5 separate regions of the Homo sapiens genome follow, and regions 2, 3, 4 and 5 are each linked to region 1. The links are contacts of gene promoters, found by promoter capture Hi-C in blood cells and fetal thymus (Javierre and others, 2016). All regions are on one chromosome and are shown on one strand. Each heading gives the region's core, a stretch centred on a gene start or on the middle of the fragment in contact. The rest is flanking DNA. Distances are from core to core; before and after follow the strand shown. Region 1 holds the start of TRAP1 (TNF receptor associated protein 1). Region 2 holds the start of VASN (vasorin). Region 3 holds the start of GLIS2 (GLIS family zinc finger 2). Region 4 holds the start of TFAP4 (transcription factor AP-4). Region 5 holds the start of SRL (sarcalumenin).

Region 1 (3,847 bases), core at 448-2,947:
TTCCTGATCCTGAGGGTCTAGGAATTTTTAACGGTCTGAATAAACAATATTTGCGAAAACATTTGCCATCTATTACCTGTAAGGGTGGTCATCTATGAGACTTCCTCTACATAATAAGAACCTTGGTCTTCACAACCTGTTTTTTGTTTGTTTGTTTGTTTGTTTGTTTTGAGACAGGGTGTGGCTCTCTTGCCCAAGCTGGAGTTCAATGGCACGAACTTGGCTCACTGCAACCTCTCCCTCCTGGGCTTAAGCAATCCACCCACCTCAGCCTCCCTTGTAGCTGGGATTACAGGCCTCCGCCACCACATCCGGTACAGGTATGTTTGGTACAGACAGGGTCTCACCATGTTGCCCACGCTGCTCTCCAACTCCTGACCTCAAGCAATTCGCCCACCTCGGCATCCCAAAGTGTTGGGATTACAGGTGTGAGTCACCGTGCTCGTGCCCACAACCCCTTATCTTCACCCAGACACTCTTTTTATTGATTCCAGGTCTGTATAACTCAACTCTTTTTTTTCTTTTTTTTGTTTTCTTTTTTTTTTTTTTTTGAGACGGAGTCACAGCTCTGTCGCCCAGGCTGCAGTGCAAGTGGCACGATCTCGGCTCACTGCAACCGCAGCCTCCCGGGTTCACGCTATTCTTCCGCCTCAGCCTCCCCAGGAGCTGGGACTACAGGCACGTGCCACCTTGCCCAGCTAATTTTTTGTATCTTAGTAGAGATGATGGGTTTTCACCATGTTGGCCAGGCTGGTCTCGGACTCCTGACCGCAGGCAGTCCGCCCACCTCAGCCTCCCAAAGTGCTAGGATTACAGGCGTGAGCCACCGCGCCCAACCAGAACTCAACTCTTTTAACCAATTGCCAATCAGAAAGTATCTGAATCCACCTATGACCTCTAAGTATTTCACCCTTTGAGTTGTCCTGCCTTTCCACACGGAACCAACCTATGTCTTACATGCATTGACTGATGTCTTATGTCTCTCTAAAATGTATAAAACCAAGCAAGCTGTAACCCAAGCACCTTGGGCCAAGTTCTCAGGACCTTTTGAGACTGTGCCTCCCTCCATGCACACTCATATTTGGCTCAGAATAACCTTCTAAATACTTTAGAGTTTGACTCTTCTCGACAAGGACAAGAGAAGTGGAATAAACGAATAACCGCAGTTTTCCTGGTGGTATTGGTCACTGGGTTCAGGTTTTGGAGTAGTAGCCAGTCAAGCCTGGAATCCCCTTCCTCATTCGCTTTAGCTTTTTGTCCAGTCTTGGTTTGCAAGAGACTTGCAGCGGCCTAGACGGATGGCCGGGATTCACAAAGGTCGCAGACACGGGAACTGCTTCTTCCCCAGCGTCGCCTCCACACCCTCGCGTGGATACTGACATCCGCCCCATTCCAGGAATGCGCACAGCTAGGCGCAGCCGGCCAGCGTGGGCCGGGGGCGGCGGGGCCACCTCCCCCACCTCCGCGCGCAAGGCCCGTCGCCCTTGACAACGCGATCCAAGGTCACGGAGGTCCCACCCCCAGGCCCGACCGTCCACGAGACGGGTAGTACCCCGCCACGCGCCCGAGCAGGCAGCTGCCCGGACAGCCCGGCGCCCGCCGTGACGTCACCGCCCCGCGCCCGAGGAAGCCCCGCCCCGCGCAGCCCCGTCCCGCCCCTTCCCATCGTGTACGGTCCCGCGTGGCTGCGCGCGGCGCTCTGGGAGTACGACATGGCGCGCGAGCTGCGGGCGCTGCTGCTGTGGGGCCGCCGCCTGCGGCCTTTGCTGCGGGCGCCGGCGCTGGCGGCCGTGCCGGGAGGTGAGGGCGTCCTGGCTGGACGGGCAGCGGGCGGGCCGGGCCACGGAGACGGCAGGGACGTCCCTGTGCTCCGGGGAGCGAGGCGCCGGCACCTGCTTCACAGGCGTGGGAGGTCCGGCGAGGCCAAGCGCGGCAGACGCGTTTACTTTCGCTCCGCTCCTCGCCAGCTCCAGCTTGGCTGCCTTTTCCTCGGCTGGACTCCCCTCGCCACCCGCCCATGGGAGCCCTGAAGGAGGCTGGGTCTTGGGGGGTCGCGGGGTCGGGCGGAGCGGCTGCGGGGTCGTCCCTCCTGGAGCTTCGGTCCAGTCAGGTAGCGCACGTGCAGGTGGAGCCGCTGCGGAGCGCGGAGTCTTTGCGGGTGCATGTTGCGGGGAATGGACTCACTCGGGGTGATCGTGCTAGTTCCATGGATCGTGCTTTACCCCTCCCCGCCTCCCAGTAGCGCACTGAGGGTTCATTTGTTAATTCGTTCATTGGACGCACATGTGAGCGCCCGCTCAGTGCCCGGCGCCGTGCAGGTTCTGGGGACGCCACAGTGAACAAAACCTATAGCAGTCATCCGGGTCCCCAGAGCAGGTGGACTCGATGTCGTTGACGCAGCTGTGTCCTCGGGGCCTGGAATTGATGGATGCGCCAATAAATGTTTGTAAAACAGAGAGAACGACCCTAACCTCTGCTTTCCCAGTCCCCACTCGGAGGTAACAACAGTGAAAGTTTCGGCATTGCTTCGGGGCTGTACACAGTGTTATACGTGTAAATATAAATGTCTGCGTATAAGTATTTTTTATTCTAAAAAGCCTAAACCATGTATGCATTGTGCTACGTTGTACTTCAGAAAATTTTAACGCTCCCAGCATTCTTTCCACATCTTTTCATGTCAGTGTATACAGGTCCATGTGCCTTCCAGTGACCACACAGTATTCTGTATGATGGACGTGTCATTTGTTTAAACATTGTCCTATTAGTGGACGCAATAAAGGTTATTTCAGGTTTTACTTTTTATTACAATGCTGCATAGAATGGGTGAGTACTTAAATATTTGTTCACGTGCGGTATTTCTTTAGCCTTACATAATTAGAATTTTAGAATTGATATTTCAGAGCCTATGCATTTTTGAAATGTTAGCAGATACTGCCAAATTGTCCAAAAAGGCCTTATCAATTTATATCCCCTTTAGCAGGCATCAAGACTGCCTATTCCAAAGGTATTTTCTTCAACGCTGAATCTTATGTCTTTTCAAAACCAGTGGTCTATAAAAGATACCTTGTGGCCGGGCGCGGTGGCTCACGCCTGTAATCCTAGCACTTTGGGAGCCTGAGGTGGGCAGATCAGGAGTTCAAGACCAGCCTGGCCAACATGGTGAAACCCTGTCTCTACTAAAAATACAAAAATTAGCTGGGTGTGGTGGCGCGCGCCTGTAATCCCAGCTTCTTGGGAGGCTGAGGCAGGAGAATCGCTTGAACCCAGGAGGCAGAGATTGCAGTGAGCTGAGATTGCACCACTGCACTCCAGCCTGGGCGACAGAGTGAGACTTCATCTCAACAACAAAAATAATAATAATTTTCCCTCAGAAAGTGATGCTGTTGCTCTCTTCTAGCACCAGTGTCTGATCAATTATTTATTTATTTTTTTGTCTTTATGAGGTGGGGTTTCACTATGTTGGCCAGGCTGGTCTCCAGTGCCTGACCTCAAGTGATCTGCCTGCCTTGCCCTCCAAAATGCTGGGATTGCAGGCGTGTGTCACCGTGCCTGGCCAACTGTTCTGTTAATTTGGTTCTCGTTTCTTTTGTAGCTGACTCGGGTTTTTTCCCCCTTGGAGGTTAAGATTTTTTCTCTTTGTCGTTTGTGGTCTCGCGTCCACAGGTGTTTGTGATTCATGCTTTGTATCATGCACTGTCCCTTCCATTTGGAAAATATGTCAGTTTTCAGCCCAGGGACATTTTAATTCTGTTTCTTTATCTCTTTTTCTTTTTCTTTTTTTTTGAGATGGAGTCTTGCTCTGTCACCCAGGCTGGAGTGCAGTGGCGCGATCTTGGCTCACTGCAAG
Region 2 (3,847 bases), core at 648-3,147, 650 kb before region 1:
TGTGTTGGGACCCACTTATAAGCCCAGGCAAGGACTTAATTTTCTGTACTTGGGACTTGTCCCAGCTCCCCCGGGGCTGTCAGTGGGGGTGACAGTAATGGGAGCTAGGAGCCGCGGACCCATCTCCTGCCCGGGGCATCTCCCTTGCCATCTCCCTGGCCCCTGGGCTGCGTGCCAGAGGGGCCTTCCTCGGGTAAGCACAGGTCTGGGCAGTGTCTGAGAGGCTCCTTATGCTGAATCCCATTCTCCCATTCCCAGAATATGGAGAGAGAGGTGCCATCTGGACAAATGCCCTGGGACCCCAGCCCCCAGCCCCATCCCCATCTGACCCTCCGGACCCACAGGTAGCAGGACAGCTGTTCCAACGTGCAGGAGACAGGGGCGGGGTGGGGACAGGCAGTGCCCGGCCCCCAGGCTGGCATGTGTGTGCGCATCCTCCCTCCCCAGGCCCAGGGGAGGCTAGATAATGGTCTGGAGGGGATCCAGCTGGGCTGCTCATCACCAGAGCCTCTTCCTGCCTCTGACACTCTGTTTACAGAAGCTCCAGGCCAACTCCCCTGGGAGAAGAGAGTAAACTCAGGGGACTGCTCCCCATCCCCCACCCGCCTGCCCCAGCTCTGTTGGGTTTTTGTCAATAGCTGGGCCCATCCTGGACTTTGCTGCCCCCTGGACTGGCCCTAATGGACCCTGCTTGGAAGGTCCCAGCCCGGCCACCCCTCTATGCCCTCAACACCCAAAGTACAGTCTAGTGTGAAGGGACCTTGGAGATTTTATCCAATCCCCAGCCCTGGAGGCTCTCAGCCTGGGGAAGGGGGCTCTAGGTCCCGCTGCCTCTCTCCAGAGCCTCACCTGTCCTTGGTGCAAAAGGCAGGCATGGGGACACCTAGACCCCCAGGACCTCTTCCTTCCACCCTGCACACTCCACCCCTGGGCCACAGCAGGGGAGGCGGTCAGTGACCCTGGTGTGGCAATCGTTAACGAATGGGGGAGAGGCAGAATGGTTGGCACCAATCGGCTGGCCTGCCAGTGACCACAGGGGACCTCAGCAGTCCTCAGGCCCCAGCACTGCCAGCCCAGGGACACAAAGGACTAGGCTGGCTCCAGGCCACTGGGTTTGCAGCCCAAGCAAAGCCCCTTCCCTGGCAGAGGCAGAGACCCGGCACCCTGCCTGATACCCGAAGCTCTAAGGGCCCTGGCCAGTACAGGTCCATCCCCCACCTGGAGGGATGGGCATCGGACGCCCACCAGCCACTCCCCGCCCCTCCCTAGGGCTGCATATCTGTAGCCCCCAGCTGTGCTTTGAGTGACAAGGGTCCAGAGGACCCCGGGCAGCCCTTCTGCACAGCAGCACCTACTGCCGGACCCCAGGAGGGAAAAGTGACCCAAGCCTGTGGCTTGGCTATCCCCCTCAAAGGGGTTTGATTCATAAAACTGGTCATGCCGGAGGCCCAGCCGTGGGAGGAGGAAGCATGGGACGGGGTGTTTATTTTGTCTGCTTGCAGCCTCGCGGGCTCACCGCACACTCAGGCGCGCACCCTGGCCGGCCGCGGGGCTGTCGGCGCCCCAGGACGGCGGGGGAGGGAGCGTACAGGGCCTGCCCGCCGGGCGGCCCAGGTGACCGTGTGGGGCTGGGGCCGCGGTCCCGCCCGAGAGTGCGTGTGTGCGCGCGGCGGCGGTCCCCGCGCGTGTGCACAGCCTGGCCGTGGCGCCCCCTTCCCCGCCCGCAGCCCCCCAGCCCCACAGAAACTCACCGGGAGGCGGCGGCGGCGCAGGGAGCCGGGCGGGGCAGGCCGCGGCCTCAGTCTTTCCTGGCGGGTCGGGCCCGAGGGGGTCCTGGGTCCCGAAGCAACTGCGTTCGAGTCCGCGTCCACCCGCCCCGGGCTCGGGCTCCGGAGTCGGCTCGCTGGAGGCAGGTCGCGCCTTAAGAGTCCCGGGGGGCGGGCCCGCCGCGGCAGGGGCGGGGCCTCTCCCCATTGGCCGGGGCGGAGCCGCGTGGAGACACGCCCCTTCCCCACCGAGGGGCTCGTGGGCCGGGTTGCCCTGGCCCTCACCCTGCGGCCACCTGACCTGCGCGGGGAGACCTTGCCCGTCGTGGGTTTGCCGGATGACACTGGGCAGGTTTCTGCTTTTTGTGTAAAAAGCGAGAGACTATTTAGGAATCCTAAGCGTCACAGCCCAGATGCCTATGAGGCACCAGGCAGGTGACAAATGCCAGAAGTCCACCCCAGGGCCTCTGCGGCCCTGGAGAGGCAGGATGGCGGGAGTGGGGCTGGTAAGGGCTGAGTCCTCATGACCAGCCCGGGCCAGCTAGAGCTTTGGATTTTTGAAGAGAAACTGGAAATCCAGATTTTTAGGTGAAATCTCTCAATGTGTTATTGTTGGTAGCTAATCCCAATTTCAAAAAACTCCTGGCAGCCCACACAAAGCCCTTTCAAGAGCCTCCTAAGTATAAACTCCAATGCCAAATCTGAGCTCAGGGTCCTCTTAGCCACGACAGCCTTAAGAGTTGTGAGCAGCCCTGGACTCTCTTCCCCACCATATTATGAGATGAAGGGGCTGTGTCAGGGAGGGCAGTGGTGGTCTGCCCACGGCCCCACAGTTACTGGCAGCTTCAAGCCTGAGCTGTGGAGGCATAGGGGTGGTCACCGTCGGTGGGTGGGGCCTGGGCTGCAGTTGACAGTGGCCCTTGATTGGGCAGGAGGGGCGGGTGCCAGGGGCCGGACTAGTCCAGAAAAATCCCCTGCCTTGGAGGATTCCAGGAAAACACTCTGCCCTCCTCCCCCTCCGCGTTTGTGGTCAGTCATGCCTCAGAGCCTTTGGGGGCCCAGCTCAGCTCCTGACTTCCGGAGAGCCTTGGGACACCCACACCCCCTCCAGCCCGGCCTGTAGCCAAGGCCCTTGGCTGGGCTAGCTCTAGTCTTTGGGGGGCCTGAAGGCTTATCCCTGGGAGGCTGGGCCACACCAGCTGGAGGGTTTCCTAGTCTCTGGAGGACTCAGTTATCTCCAGAAGGCAGGATGGCCTCTGTGTCTAGCCGTCAAGGGCTAAGCAGGGCCTGGCTGGGACAGTCACCTTCTGGACCTCCCGTCCACAGGGCCCTCTCCCCACAGGGCCCCTTTCCAGGGCTGGCAGGGCTCCACAACCCATACGTTTCTCGGTCTACATGGATTAGGGCATGGCTTGCGGACCTCTGTTCCTGGGTTGGGGCTGGCCTTTGGGTGCATTTAGTGCAGGCTTTATGGGAGTTTTTACAACTTTGAAGGCACTGCTAACATTGAAAAATCAGGTGGTTTCATATTAAAATGGGGCTTCCCAGCTTGCATTGAACAGGAACTCTCAGCTGGGGCTGAGTGGCGGTTGCTCCCTCTGCCAAAATGTGGGCTCATGGGTCACCCCAGTCCCCACCACTCCCTGCTGCCTCCTGCCAAGCTGTCCACTCACTTGAGTTTCCTGCCCGGCCCCAGAACCATCTGAGTTTCCAATCAGTGCTGTGCAGCCTCTTGTCGGACTGTTTCCCTGCCTCTTCCCTTGGCCCTGTGTCCTCTGAAGCCCTCAGAAGCATCCACAGATGCCCAGGGTCAGGGGTAAAGAGGGCTCCAAGAGCCTCCAGCCTGGCTTTCCTCAAGGAACAGGACCTCCTGATGTCCTTGAAGCTTCTCACCTCTGTGGCAGGTTCTTGTAGACGGAGAGACCCCATCTGCCTGGTGTTCACCCCCTGCCCCAATCCTGTGCCCTGGCCTTACACAGGTCCCCACTTACCCAGAGGCTCAAGGGAAGCTTTTAGGAGACCCCTCTCAGTTTATCCAACATTGCCTTGTATGGTTTCAAGGTGCCACCCGCCTTTAGAAC
Region 3 (3,847 bases), core at 513-3,012, 600 kb before region 1:
GGGGTCCGCACACCCCCCAAAACACCATCCCAAGTCCCTGGCACTGTCTCCTGCTTGGCTGGCTGCAGACAGGGCCAAGTTGAGCTGGAGGTGGGCAGTGAAATGGGCCAGGCTGGAGCTTGGCAAAGGGTGTCCTGGGAGGGGCCTCCCAGGTGCAGCCCCTCCCCCTGTGCAGGCCAGGCCAGCTAGGAGGCCCAGCCTGGGCTCTGGGGAGAAGGAGAAGCAGAGGGGGAGGTCCGAGGTCACCCGGGATGGGTGTGTGGGCTGGGCCTGGACAGCTGTGGCACTGTGGCACCAGAATGGGGCTTGGGGAGGGGTGACCCAAGGGGCCAGTTTCCCCTCCCCTGAGCCCGGGGGCTGGAAGGCCCTCCGAAGCGCAGTGTCTCTGGGCTTCCTCCCCAGCCGCAGGCTGGCCCCACCTTCCCTCCAGGATGCCAGGACACGCAGGATGGCGGCCTACTACCCAGGGTGCCAGCCTCCAAGAACCATGGCCCAGGCCCTTTCCATGGCCCAGACCAAGCCCAGGCCTTGGCCAGGTCCCCAGCCGGCCTGGCTGCCCCCTCAGTGTCAAGCGTTCCCTCCAGAGCCAAGATCCTGGGCTGTGATGGCTGGGGGCCCAGGGCCCCTCCCAGCATCCCTTCCAGCTTCCCAGGCCCCAGGGCAGGGCTGGGCAACTCCTTGAAACCATTGCTTCCCGGCCACCCTCTGGCCAGGCTGGGCGGGCCCTCCTGGACAGGCAGACAGGCTGCACGCTGCCCTGCTGTGGCCCGAGTACCCTGCTGGGCAGGGCAGCATGCCAAGGCCTCCAGGTGCCAGCCTGGATTCCAGCCCCATCCCAGGGGGCCAGCGGGGAAGCTGTGCGTGCTTCTCCTCCCTCGGGATGCACCTGCCTCGCCCCCTCCTCCACCCGCTCCAGACCCGCCCTCCGGCGAGTATGGACCCCTTGCCATCTCCTCCCTGCCAGGCCGGTCGCCTGCGTCCACCCGGACCGCAGGGGAGTAACAAGTGCCTGACTTGTCCCAAACTCCCAGTCCTGACCCCCCAGGGACGCCCCTTCCCGAGGTCCAAGGAAGGACCCGGGCTTGCGAGGGGCAGCAGGAGGGAGACTCTCCCGGCCAAGGGAGGAGGCACCTTCCAAAGCCCTTCCTAGCAGCAGCCCCGGCGCGGCCGAGAGGAGGGGCGGCTGCCCCGGACAACTTCATGCCCAGGCTCCGGGTACCCCCCTCTCACCTCGCCGCACGCCCCCCACCGCGGCCGCCCAACTTCCCAGCTGAAGTTTGCGCCCGCCCCGGGCCCGGGCGCTGCTCGGCCCGGCCTCCAGACGGAGGGAAGGAAGGAGGGAGAAGAAAGACCGAGAGCTCGAGGGACCCGGCCGGGGAGCCGGCGAGGGAGGGAGCGCGCGAGCCAGCGAGCGAGCGAACGCGGGGGCCTCGGCGAGGGCTCACAATGGCCCGGGGCGCGGACGCGAGCGGGGGAGGAGACCCTCGGGCCCCGCAGCCCCGGCGCGACAGGCGGGCCCCCCCCCCCCCGCCCCGGCCCGGTCCCCACGGCGCGACGCCCGGGGGGCTTCCTACCTCAGCGGCGGGGGCGGTCGGGATCCGGGCTGCGGGCTCCGGCGGTCGGGGGGCGCGGGGAGCCGAGCGGGGGAGGGGCCGGGACGGGCGGGGGCCGGGGCGCGAGGCCTCACGGGGCGCGGGCTCCCCTGGCACGGCCGCCCGGCGCCCGGCCGCTCCGCCACATCTGCAGCTCGGGCAGGGAAGGTGGCCGCGGCGGCCGGGCCGTGCGGGGATGTCTTAGAGGGAGGGCGGGCGGGCGGGAGGAGGGAGGAGGGAGGCGGCGGGAGGAGGGCCCGCCGGCCGCGGAGGAGGGCGAGGAGGAGGGGCGCGGGGGGCGGCCTCCACCCCTCCCCTCGCTCGCTCGCTCCCTCCCTCCCAGCAAAACCCCTCTCACCGCTGCGGCCCCAGGCCCGGGGCGCCAGCTGCCAGGCGGGGCGTGCGCGTCGGGGGAGGGGGCGGCGGGAGCCGGCGCTGGGCCGAGGGAGGGGGAAGGGAGGGCGGCGCGGCCGCGGGGAGCGGGCACCGGGAGGGAGGGGTGAGGGAGGGAAGTGGGGCGCCGAGCCGCGCGCGTCCTCCTCGGCCCCATCCTCACGCCACCCCCCCCCCGCGGCCCCGCCCCCGGCCCGAGGGCAGCGCTAGGACACGGCCGGGAGGTGGCCTGGGGGGGCGGGGGAGCCCGAGACGTCCCGCCCTCGGGGAAGCCCGAGGAGGGGGCCGGGCGCGCGGGCCCAGAGGAAAAGCCCCGCAGACCGGGAAGATGGAGGAGGTCGCGGCGGCGGAGCGGGCGGGGACCCCTCGCCTCCTCCCGCGGGGTCACCTTGGCCAGGCCCCCCTGCGGCCCCGGGCGGCGGGGAAGGCGGCAGGAATGCCTCTCTGCGGGCCCTGATTTCTCCGCCCAGCCCAGTTCCAGGAACGCGCAGGCAGCGCCCGGCGGGCAGAGGTCCCGGATCCCGATGCCGGGCGGCGCAAACCAGTTTTCGGGGCCCGGCGCAACCCCTCACGCTGGTGAGACGGCGGGCGACTCCCTGCCGTGCCCTCGGTCTCAGTTTCCCTCACGGTAGAATAACGACGAGGCCCGATGCCGAGCAATCCGAGCTTCCGCTTGGTTCCTAGCTTGGTCCCAGCATTTGGGACCACCTGCGTCCACTAGCCCGAGCGCCGCGGGAGGTCTAGATCCCTCCTGGACATCAGCACCCTGCGCGGCGCCCGCGGCCAGGGCAGCGAGTGCAGTGAGCGGATACACGCGAGGGAGAAGCCCCGCACCCGGCCCAGCTGTTTTCTGCCTCGTGTTGAACCACAGACTCGCGTTCTTGAGTGTGTTTTGTTTGGGCTAATCCCGTGCCCCCCGCCCTGTTATCTTCTTGCTGCTCTGCTGTATGCTGGCAAATTGTAGTTCAAAAAAACAGCCCTCCTGCTGTTGGACACCCCCTCTTCCCAGCGCAGTTGGCCTTGAGGAGCCTAGGAGACGAAAAAGGCATCCCAGAATCAGCATCCCCTAGAGGTGAGGCATCTGACGCTGGTTTTAAGTCCGTCTTCATTCGTGCATTTGATGCTGCGGTCCCCGCCAGAGCCCGAAGCACGTGGCTCTTGATCACAAGGCATCCATGGCAGGCACAAGGCTTGGCACATAGTAGGTGCTCCTGGGCTGGTGCCCAGATGGACACATAGCAGGTGCTCATGGGTTATGTGGACACACAATCGATGCTCATTGCATTTTAAGAGAATGCACACATAGTAGGTGCTCATGGGCTGGTGCCCAGATGGACACATAGCAGGTGCTCATGGGTTATGTGGACACACAATCGATGCTCATTGCATTTTAAGAGAATGCACACATAGTAGGTGCTCAGGACGTTGTGGGTGAATGCACACATAGTAGGTGTGGACTCGTAATGGATGCTCATGTTTTGGTCTAATGAACACATATTAGGTGCTCATGACCTGTTGTGGAAATGGGCACATAGTAGGTGCGCAGGAGCTGTAGGTTGATACCTGGAAGGGATGTAGGAAGGCCGTTTGCCTGGAGCAAAGGCTCGGAAGTTGGCGATTTGGAGGTGACCTCCCCCAGCCTCCACCCTCACCTCACCCCGGTCTCCTGAGTGTGGATAATGTGGAGTGTGGCCGGGTTAAACATTAGCCGGGAGATGGGCCCCGGGGGAAGGCCAGTTTCGGGACCTAGCGCTTCCAGGAGGGGGCTATTAAGGGCCGACTCTCTGGGTCCGGCGACCTGTGCGGGCGTCCGGAAGGGCCGAGGCCGAGGCCCGCAGAGCGCCCCCTCACGGCGGCGGGAA
Region 4 (3,847 bases), core at 492-2,991, 560 kb before region 1:
CTCTATTTGTTGAAAAACAGTAAAAAGGTTTTTTTTTTTTTTTTTTTTTGAGACGGAGTTTCACTCTTGTTGCCCAGGCTGGAGTGCAATGACATGATCTTGGCTCACTGCAACCTCCACCTCCCGGGTTCAAGCGATTCTCCTGCTTCAGCCTCCCGAGTAGCTGAGATTACAGGCATGTGCCACCAGGCCCCCGGCTAATTTTGCATTTTTAGTAGAGACGGGGTTTCTCCATGTTGGTCAGGCTGGTCTCGAACTCCCGACCTCAGGTGATCCACCCGCCTCAGCCTCCCAAAGTGCTGAGATTACAGGCGTGAGCCAACGCGCCCAGCCGAAAGTTTTTTTTTTTTTTTTTTTTTTTTAAGTAGAAACATAGTAAGCCTTCCAGAGACTTTTTTTTGGTCAAGTGGTCTGGGATCTCTCCTTAGAGAAACTGCCTAACAGGTTGCTTCAAGGATTGGAGAGCGTGTAAGCAAAACTGCTCGGCATCCACCGGGTGCTGGCAACATCTAATAACAATATTTCCCAATAATAACAGTAACTATTGTTACTAGTAGGAATAAGTCAAATTAGGAGGCGCGATTTAGGCGGAACCTGGAAGGCGGTGGGCAGGATCCAGGACATTCCAAGGCAGGCGTGGGCTTCCTGAGCCAGGAGCCAACCCTCCAGGAGCCAGGGGAGGGCCTGGGGCCGGAAGGTGCGGCGTGCGAGCGGAGGACGGAAGCTCGCCGCCAGGGTCCCCGTCCCTGCCCCAAGTCGTCACCCCCTCTTGGGGAGCGCATCCTGGCGGAGGGGCAAGTCCCACACGGGCTTTGTTATGAATGGGAAGCTGCAGCCTTCAGCCCGCGGAGGGAACAGTGCGGGTCTGGGGGAATAGCAGGGGACCCGGCAGCAACCAGCAGACCTCCCCGCAGCGCTGGCAGCCTGCGCCCGGGGGCCGCTGCCGTTCAGGCCCGCCTCCACCCTCCCCTCCCTGCCGGGGCCCCCGGCTTCCTAGGGCGGCCCCAGCATCCGAGGCGCCCTTTGCCGTCCCGTCGCCGGGTCCAAGATTCCCAGGATCCGGAGTCCCGGCCGTGCGGCCAGCTAAGCAAGGCGGGAGGGAGGAAGCTGGCCGGCCTCCGAAGTCAGCCCCGAGTTACATGTGGGAAGCGGTGGCTGTGACGCAAGTTTCCAGGGGGCCCTGGGCTCGGCTCGAAGGGAGCACACCGGAGAGGCTCCGCTCCGTGCAGCTGCAATGGTGAAAAAGCAGAAGCCCCAAGCGCGAACCCCAGGCCGCCTTCCTTGCTGCCGCTGCACGCCCGACCCAGCCGCGCCCCCTCCTCCCTGCGGGCCGGCCGAGCGCGCGGACCCTGCTCTGGGCCAGTCGCTGCTGGACTCCGGGCTGCACGGGCTGGGCTCCCTGCGCGGTGGCTGGCCTTTTTTTTTTTTTTTTTGCAACGCTTGCCAACCTGTCAGCTGATGGACCTCATCACCCATAGTGGCGCATGTAGCTCGGCCGCAGCTCGCTCCATTCACGCCGCGCCCCGCAAGCCCGCCCGCGGCCCCCGGCCCCCTGCGCCCCGCGAGAGGCCTGCAGACCCCGGTTGCAGCCGGTCCCCGGGGGCCCGCGCCCCTCTCGCCCCGGCCTCGCGCCGCCCGGGGGGCGCTGCAAATAGTCCTTTGTTTACATGCAATTCCTTACTCCGCGGAAGGAGGCCGGGGGAGTGCTGAGTTTTCACCAGCTGTTTCCCGCCTTGAAACAGACATCTGATCAGCTGCAAACACACACACACACACACACACACACACACACACACACACACACACACATACACACGCCCGGGGAGGCAGGCCGGAGAGACCTCCCTCCCGCCCCTCCCGCCCGCCTCCCTCCCCTCGCCGCCGCCGCCGCCGCCAGCATCTGGGACCGGCCGATTCTGCACCTCCGTCCGGCGCTGCCCTTTGATTCGGATTTCCATCTTGCATTCTCCGGCTGATCGCGGGACCTGGCTCGTGCAGAGGAGGGGGGCCGATCGCTATGGAGTATTTCATGGTGCCCACTCAGAAGGTGCCCTCTTTGCAACATTTCAGGAAAACAGAGAAAGAAGTGATAGGAGGGCTCTGTAGGTGTGTACTCCTCCTCCCCCCACCCCCTTCCTACCACTGCAGCCCCCGGCCAGCCCGCCCGGGCGGGCGCGCGTGTGCGCACGCATGGCCCGCGCCGCCGACCCCGCTAGCCTTTCTTAGCTGCCGGGACGGCTGCAGCCCCACACGCCGGGTCCGCGCCGCCCCGGGACCCTCCTTCCTTGGAGCATGGGGGCCCCAAGCGGCCCCGGCCACTTTTGTCCGCTGCAGGCGGGCGAGTCGCGACGTTTGTAAATTGCAAACAGACCCACGTGGTTCTGCAGCAGTCCCGGCCATGCTTGGTGCTGGTGGCCTTCCCCCCCGCGCTTCCTCTTTCCCCCTCCTGCGGCGGCTTCCTTCCTCTCCTTCCTTCCTCGGGATCTGAGGTCGTCCCCATCCAAGGGGGTCTGGGGGCCCGGGGCGCGCGTGGGGGTGTAGCTAGGGCGGCTACAATGCAGCCATGCCGCGGCTCCCGGCGCGGGGTGGGGGCGGGGAGCCGGGCACTGTGCGTGTTTGCAGAGCGGGGCTGCAGCGGGGTCGGGGGCGTGCTCGCGTGTGGGTGTTGGGGGTGGGCGGACCCCGAGGGGCCCGCGCGGCCGGTAGGGGCGCCGCGGCCCGGGGCACGTTGGCTGCCGCTCGCTCGCCCGCCCGCGCCCGGGCGCTGTTTACTAGCGAGGCCTGGACGTGACTCTGCAGCCCTCTTGGAGTAGGCGGACCTCTGCGCGCGGCCTCGCGGGAGCTGTAGTTCTCCGTGTCCTGCTGGTGCAGCATTGTGGGATTTGTAGGCGCTCCTGGGCCACGCTTTCCCTGCACAAAGCTCGGCCCCCGCGGGCACGATGGGCAAGGCAGGCCAGGTGGGCAGGCCATTTGGGGAAGGGACACCTGAGGCCGCCCCTAGCCTCGCAGGGCAGCTTCCCGCCGCACGTGGGTTTCCTCTGCAAACTTTCCCATCCAACGCCCCTCCCCCCTGCCGTAAACCGAAAGCGTCGGGTCCCCCAGCCGGGTGGGTGGCCCGAGGTCCGCAGGCCTCCCCAGAAGCCACTTTGCAAGCTTTGGTCCTAGGTTGCTCTAAACCCAAAGGGTGATGGACTCAAGGACCACACACAGCCAAACCACCCCGCACACTTCTTAAAATGCACATGCCTGGAACTCTGATCGCTGGGGCCCGGACATCTGCATTTTGAACGACCCCCTGGGCGTGGTGTGGGGGAGGTGGGCGTTCTACGGCGTGCGCAAGTTTGGGACCTGTGGCCCCTTTCCTGCCGCGCTGCTCCAGGAGCGAAATGGCTCCCCAGGGCTGGAGCCACGTGCTCTGCCGCCCGAGGCAGTCTGGGCGGGGATTGAGGGAGGAGGAGCCCGCCGGTGTGGCACAGGCTGGTGGACGCTAGCGCCTGCAGAATCCGGCCTGGAGGGAAGGTTGCTGCACACGTGTAGACACTCCTGCCCAACCCTCTGCCCCGGGGGTCCCCACCTTAAGGCTACTCTGAAGTTCCCAGTCAATACCTAGACTTGGGCCAGTTGATGGGTTTGGCAGCTGGCAGGGATGCCCCGAGGGCTGGCCCTTGCACGAGGCCCACCTGGAGGGCCCAGTAATAATAAGTAAAAAAAATTCTTGAGCTCTTTTTATGTTCTGGGGACTCACTTTGCTAGAATTTTCTCACTGAGTTGTCATAATCTTTCTATGAGTCAAAAGTGTCTTTTGATTCCGCTTAAAGAGGCGGACACAGAGACTGGAGAAGGGACC
Region 5 (3,847 bases), core at 651-3,150, 520 kb before region 1:
CCTTATTCAATTATTAAAGGCCATAAATAGTTCACAATAAGTTTTCTTGACTCGTTTTGATGAGTGTTGTACCTTGGGATCCCGGATGAGGTCCCCAACATGAAGCAGCTACATTGTTTGGGGTAAATACCTGGGGTTCATTGTCTCACGCCAAGAAAATTTAGGACACAGACACACATGAGGAGTTTAGGAGCAGAGGTTTAACAGGCAAAAGAAAGAGAAAGAAAAACAGCTCCTTAGTGAGAGAGAGGGGACTTCCAAGAGGAAAAGTCCCAAGACCTTGTCTTTGAAAAAGCAGTAGCTCATGCCTGTAATCGTAGTGCTTTGGGAGGTCGAGACAGGAAGATTGCTTGAGCCCAGGAGTTGGAGACCAGCCCGAGTGACATAGGAAGACCATGTTTGCAAAAAACAAAAAAATTAGCCAGATGTGGTGCACACCTGTATTCCCAGCCCCTCGGAGGTTGAGGTGAGAGGGTGGCTTGAGCCCAGGAGTTCAAGGCTGCAGTGAGCTATGATCGTGTCACTACTCCAGCCAGGGTGACAGAGACCCTGTCTCTTAAAAAAGATTAAAAAAAAAAAAAAAGTCAAGTGCCTACCAGATGCCTAATTCTTTTTTTTTTTTTTTTTTTTTTTGAGACAGAGTCTCGCTCTGTTGCCCAGGCTAGAGTCAGTGGTGCAATCTTGGCTCATGGCAACCTTCGCCTCCTGGGATCAAGTGATTCTCCTGCCTCAGCCTCCTGAGGAGCTGGGATTATAGGCACCCGCCACCACACCCAGTAATTTTTGTATTTTTAGTGGAGATGGGGTTTCACCATGTTGGCCAGGCTGGTCTCAATCTCCTGACCTCAGGTGATCCACCCGCCTCGGCCTCCCAAAGTGCTGGGATTACAGGTGTGAGCCACTGTGCCTGGCCCTGATTTAGTTCCTTTCCTCCAAGGCTGGCTTCTACCTCTTCCCCACACAGTGACACTGTACCCCGACCAGACAAGCAAGTGTCTGCTTTCCCTTGGCTTCTTACAACTGGCTCTCTGGGCCATCTACAAAAAATTTTAAAAAATTAGTACAGCATGGTGGCACTACTGTCCTAGCTACTTGGGAGGCTGAGTTGGGAGGATTGATTGAGCCTGGGAGGTCGAGTGCAGTGAGTGATGATTGTGCCACTGCAGTCCAGCCTGGGTGACAGAGCGAGATCCTCTATCAAAAACAAATAAACAAAAAAGCACTTTGCAGAGGTGACTGAATGTTCTGGAACCCCTGGGCCATTGGAAATGGATATCTGTTGCTCCATCCTCCAGTTTACACCGTAGCCTCAGCTTGTGTCTCAGTGTGCCCCTCTCCCTCTGGTCTGTGCTCTCTCTCTTCCAGAGGCTGGGAAGGTTGTTCCAGGGCTGCAGCCTTGGACCTCAGAGGTCACATGTTGCGGGTTTGCCGTAGCTGACCACTCTCTAGCATGTGGATCAGTGGCTGTTAAATAGGATTTCTTTTGCGTGGCCTTACAACTTCCTCCTTCCAGTGCAGGCGTGTCAAGGTCCTTAACCTGCCGAGACTTCAGGTCAAGTTATTGCAAGTTCTGGGAAGACTCAGCTTCCCAGCTCCACCGCCTGAGCCCAAGGGATGCTCCATTTTATGCCTGTCACCCACGCCCTGTGACCCATGTCATGTGATCCCAGGGCTGCAGGGGTTCGGGGGAAGAGAATCCAGCCACGGCCCTGCCTTCTGGGGCCTGGCAGCTGGGACAGCAGTGGCGCAGCCTGAGCCTCTGCACAGCCTTCTGGGGTCCGGGCTTCTTCCCCATCACACCCTCCTAGTTGCCCTGGTGACTGTGTGACCCCTCTCCCCCCTCCACCGCCTGCTGCCACGGCCGGCCGTATAAATAGAGGCGAGGAGCAGCTGGGCTCTCTTGGCAGTCACCATGAGGGCGCTGGTCCTGCTCGGCTGCCTCCTGGCCTCGCTCCTGTTCTCAGGACAAGCAGGTAGGGCCCCTCCCAGCATGACCCAGCCCAGACTGGTCCCCCACGCTTCCTCCAAGGTTTTCTGTCTACCATGGGTTGGGTAGGGGGTCGGGGCTGATGGCAAACCCTGGCTCTTGGCTGGTGTCTTCTTACCCTTCTCTTTTCCCCGGGCCTGGGGCCTCAGAGAAAGAGCTGGGTGCTGGAGAATAGCAGCACAGTTGCGGGGCCCTCAGGAAGGCCAGAGGAAGTGGGAACGGCAAACAGAGCTGAGCTGTGAGCCAGGGTCAGAGAGGAGTCTGGCCAGTAGATGTGGGAAAGAGGGCCCTCAAAGTCGAGACGGGGGAGCCTCTGAGACGGACAAAATAGCACAGTCTGGGAGCTGGAGGTCGTTGAGGTGACCCTCCCACCTGGTGGGATATAAGGCGGAGGCCCCACTCGGGTAAGAGAACTGGGTTTGCGTGGACAGAAGGGGATACAGTGGGCAAAGGTGGGGACCGTTTTGGGAGCAGTGAGATAGAATTGGAATTGGTTTGGGATAAGATCGGAAATAGAGTTGGCGGTTGGGCTGGAAACAGCATTGGATGCAATTCAGAAGAGGAACGGGGCCCGTTCTGGAGTAGAGCCTCTGCTCGGGGTGGGGGCTTCCATCAGAAAAGGGGCTTGGCTCTGTGTGCTGAGGCTTCCCTTTGACATCTCAGCACTTTGGGTAGCAGAGGTGGTGGCTTGGGTTGCAGCATGGGGGTTATCTATAGGCTATGGAGGAGATGCCAGATTGTTTTGCCACCTCTCTTGTTCCTAAGGTTCCTGAGGCCAGGTTCCCCGAGGGAATGCTTTTAGGGAGGTGCTCCGGGGATCCCCCTAGGATCCGGACTGCCCACCGAGTCTTTTCATGACTCGGCAGTCTTCCCCCAAGCTGGGCTCTGAGCCTAGGTCCGTACCTGGGACTGGAGAGGCCCAGAGTCCAGCCTCTCAGGTCTTTGAGGTTGAATAGGGGGTTGCAGGGGCACAGTCCCTGCAGGGAGAGCAGGCAGTGGGTGGGAACAAAAGCTATTTCTCGGGGACTCAAGATGTAAGGTGGGGGGCTCCAGCCACTGCATGTGCTGCTGGGCCCTGCCCTTGTCTGTCCTTGAGTTAATTTGGGCTCTGCAGGGCTGCAGCGGCTTGAGTGCTGAGTATTCCAGGCGGCTGTCAGGCGGCTAAGTATGGAAACAGCCGCGTAATTGGATCCGGAGCCCCAAGCCGCTGCCACCCTCTCCCTTCGTGGCCGCTCCTGTGCTGCCCCCCAGCCCCAGCTGCTGGGCTGCTACACACTGGGCCCCAGGAATTTTTGGCCTTTTAGGGACATCCTTTATCTTTCCTCCCACCGAGGGAACTGGTCATCTGGAATGTTCTGCAGGCCTCGCTGGGGGCTCTTGTCGTGGGGAAAGGACGCAGGCAGGTGCTTGTGCAAAGGTCCCTTCTCTCTGCTGTCTTTCCTTCCTGGGTCCCACAGCGTGCGTCTGCCCCTGGCCCAACCTCCGGCGTAAAGCTTCCCTCTGTCCCTGCTCCTGCTCAGCACTTGGGCTGTGGGTTTCATCCACTGTGGTGGATTTTATCAGGACTCTGCCCCACTGTGGACTGTATACCCCAGAATAGGCCTCCTCCTGCATCCACCGGCAGGTTCTAACCCACAAGGTGGCTTCCTCACGCCCCCATCATGACAGTCCTTCCTACTGGGTGATTTCCCCTTCAGAATTGTGCCACCCCGGTAAATACCACCCCACCCAAAGGTCACATCTTGGCTCCTGACCTCTTTCCCTCATCTCTCCGCTGTGTGCTAACTTCCCTCCCTATCATGCTTGCTCCTTGGCTGGGTGGCGGCAGATATTCTCGCTCACCACTCCCATCTGCTTCCT

The links. The method cuts DNA at HindIII sites, captures the fragments that hold promoters and counts their contacts. A CHiCAGO score of 5 or more calls a contact.
Region 2: the fragment with the promoter of VASN here is called in contact with the fragment with the promoter of TRAP1 in region 1 in 2 of 17 cell types (naive B cells and neutrophils); the score reaches 6.9 in naive B cells.
Region 3: the fragment with the promoter of GLIS2 here is called in contact with the fragment with the promoter of TRAP1 in region 1 in 1 of 17 cell types (M0 macrophages); the score reaches 6.0 in M0 macrophages.
Region 4: the fragment with the promoter of TFAP4 here is called in contact with the fragment with the promoter of TRAP1 in region 1 in 5 of 17 cell types (naive CD8 T cells, total B cells, M2 macrophages and 2 more); the score reaches 6.5 in naive CD8 T cells.
Region 5: the fragment with the promoter of SRL here is called in contact with the fragment with the promoter of TRAP1 in region 1 in 2 of 17 cell types (neutrophils and naive CD8 T cells); the score reaches 6.5 in neutrophils.

The regions. Positions count from the first base shown.
Region 1 is chr16:3,715,374-3,719,220 of GRCh38, reverse strand. It overlaps TRAP1 (TNF receptor associated protein 1), which reads left to right and starts at 1,697. Exons shown (of 18, transcript NM_016292.3): 1 at 1,697-1,800. The coding sequence starts at 1,713. RefSeq lists silencers at 1,347-1,956, 1,977-2,096. The HindIII fragment of the contact is 13,336 bases long and covers 1-3,847 here.
Region 2 is chr16:4,369,898-4,373,744 of GRCh38, reverse strand. It overlaps VASN (vasorin), which reads right to left and starts at 1,897. Exons shown (of 2, transcript NM_138440.3): 1 at 1,752-1,897. All of the region lies in intron 9 of CORO7-PAM16 (CORO7-PAM16 readthrough), which reads left to right. The region is part of intron 9 of CORO7 (coronin 7); the gene reads left to right. RefSeq lists an enhancer at 1,690-2,515. The HindIII fragment of the contact is 4,747 bases long and covers 1-3,653 here.
Region 3 is chr16:4,313,982-4,317,828 of GRCh38, reverse strand. GLIS2 (GLIS family zinc finger 2) reads right to left here and starts at 1,762. Exons shown (of 7, transcript NM_032575.3): 1 at 1,575-1,762. RefSeq lists enhancers at 1-500, 2,622-3,134, 3,135-3,647 and a silencer at 2,927-3,221. The HindIII fragment of the contact is 6,668 bases long and covers 1-3,847 here.
Region 4 is chr16:4,270,917-4,274,763 of GRCh38, reverse strand. It overlaps TFAP4 (transcription factor AP-4), which reads left to right and starts at 1,741. Exons shown (of 7, transcript NM_003223.3): 1 at 1,741-2,106. The coding sequence starts at 2,018. RefSeq lists silencers at 797-1,446, 2,167-2,216, 2,577-2,736 and enhancers at 595-1,570, 1,867-1,916, 2,817-3,006, 2,548-3,524. The HindIII fragment of the contact is 8,835 bases long and covers 1-3,155 here.
Region 5 is chr16:4,240,133-4,243,979 of GRCh38, reverse strand. SRL (sarcalumenin) reads left to right here and starts at 1,900. Exons shown (of 6, transcript NM_001098814.2): 1 at 1,900-1,973. The coding sequence starts at 1,913. The HindIII fragment of the contact is 10,843 bases long and covers 1-3,482 here.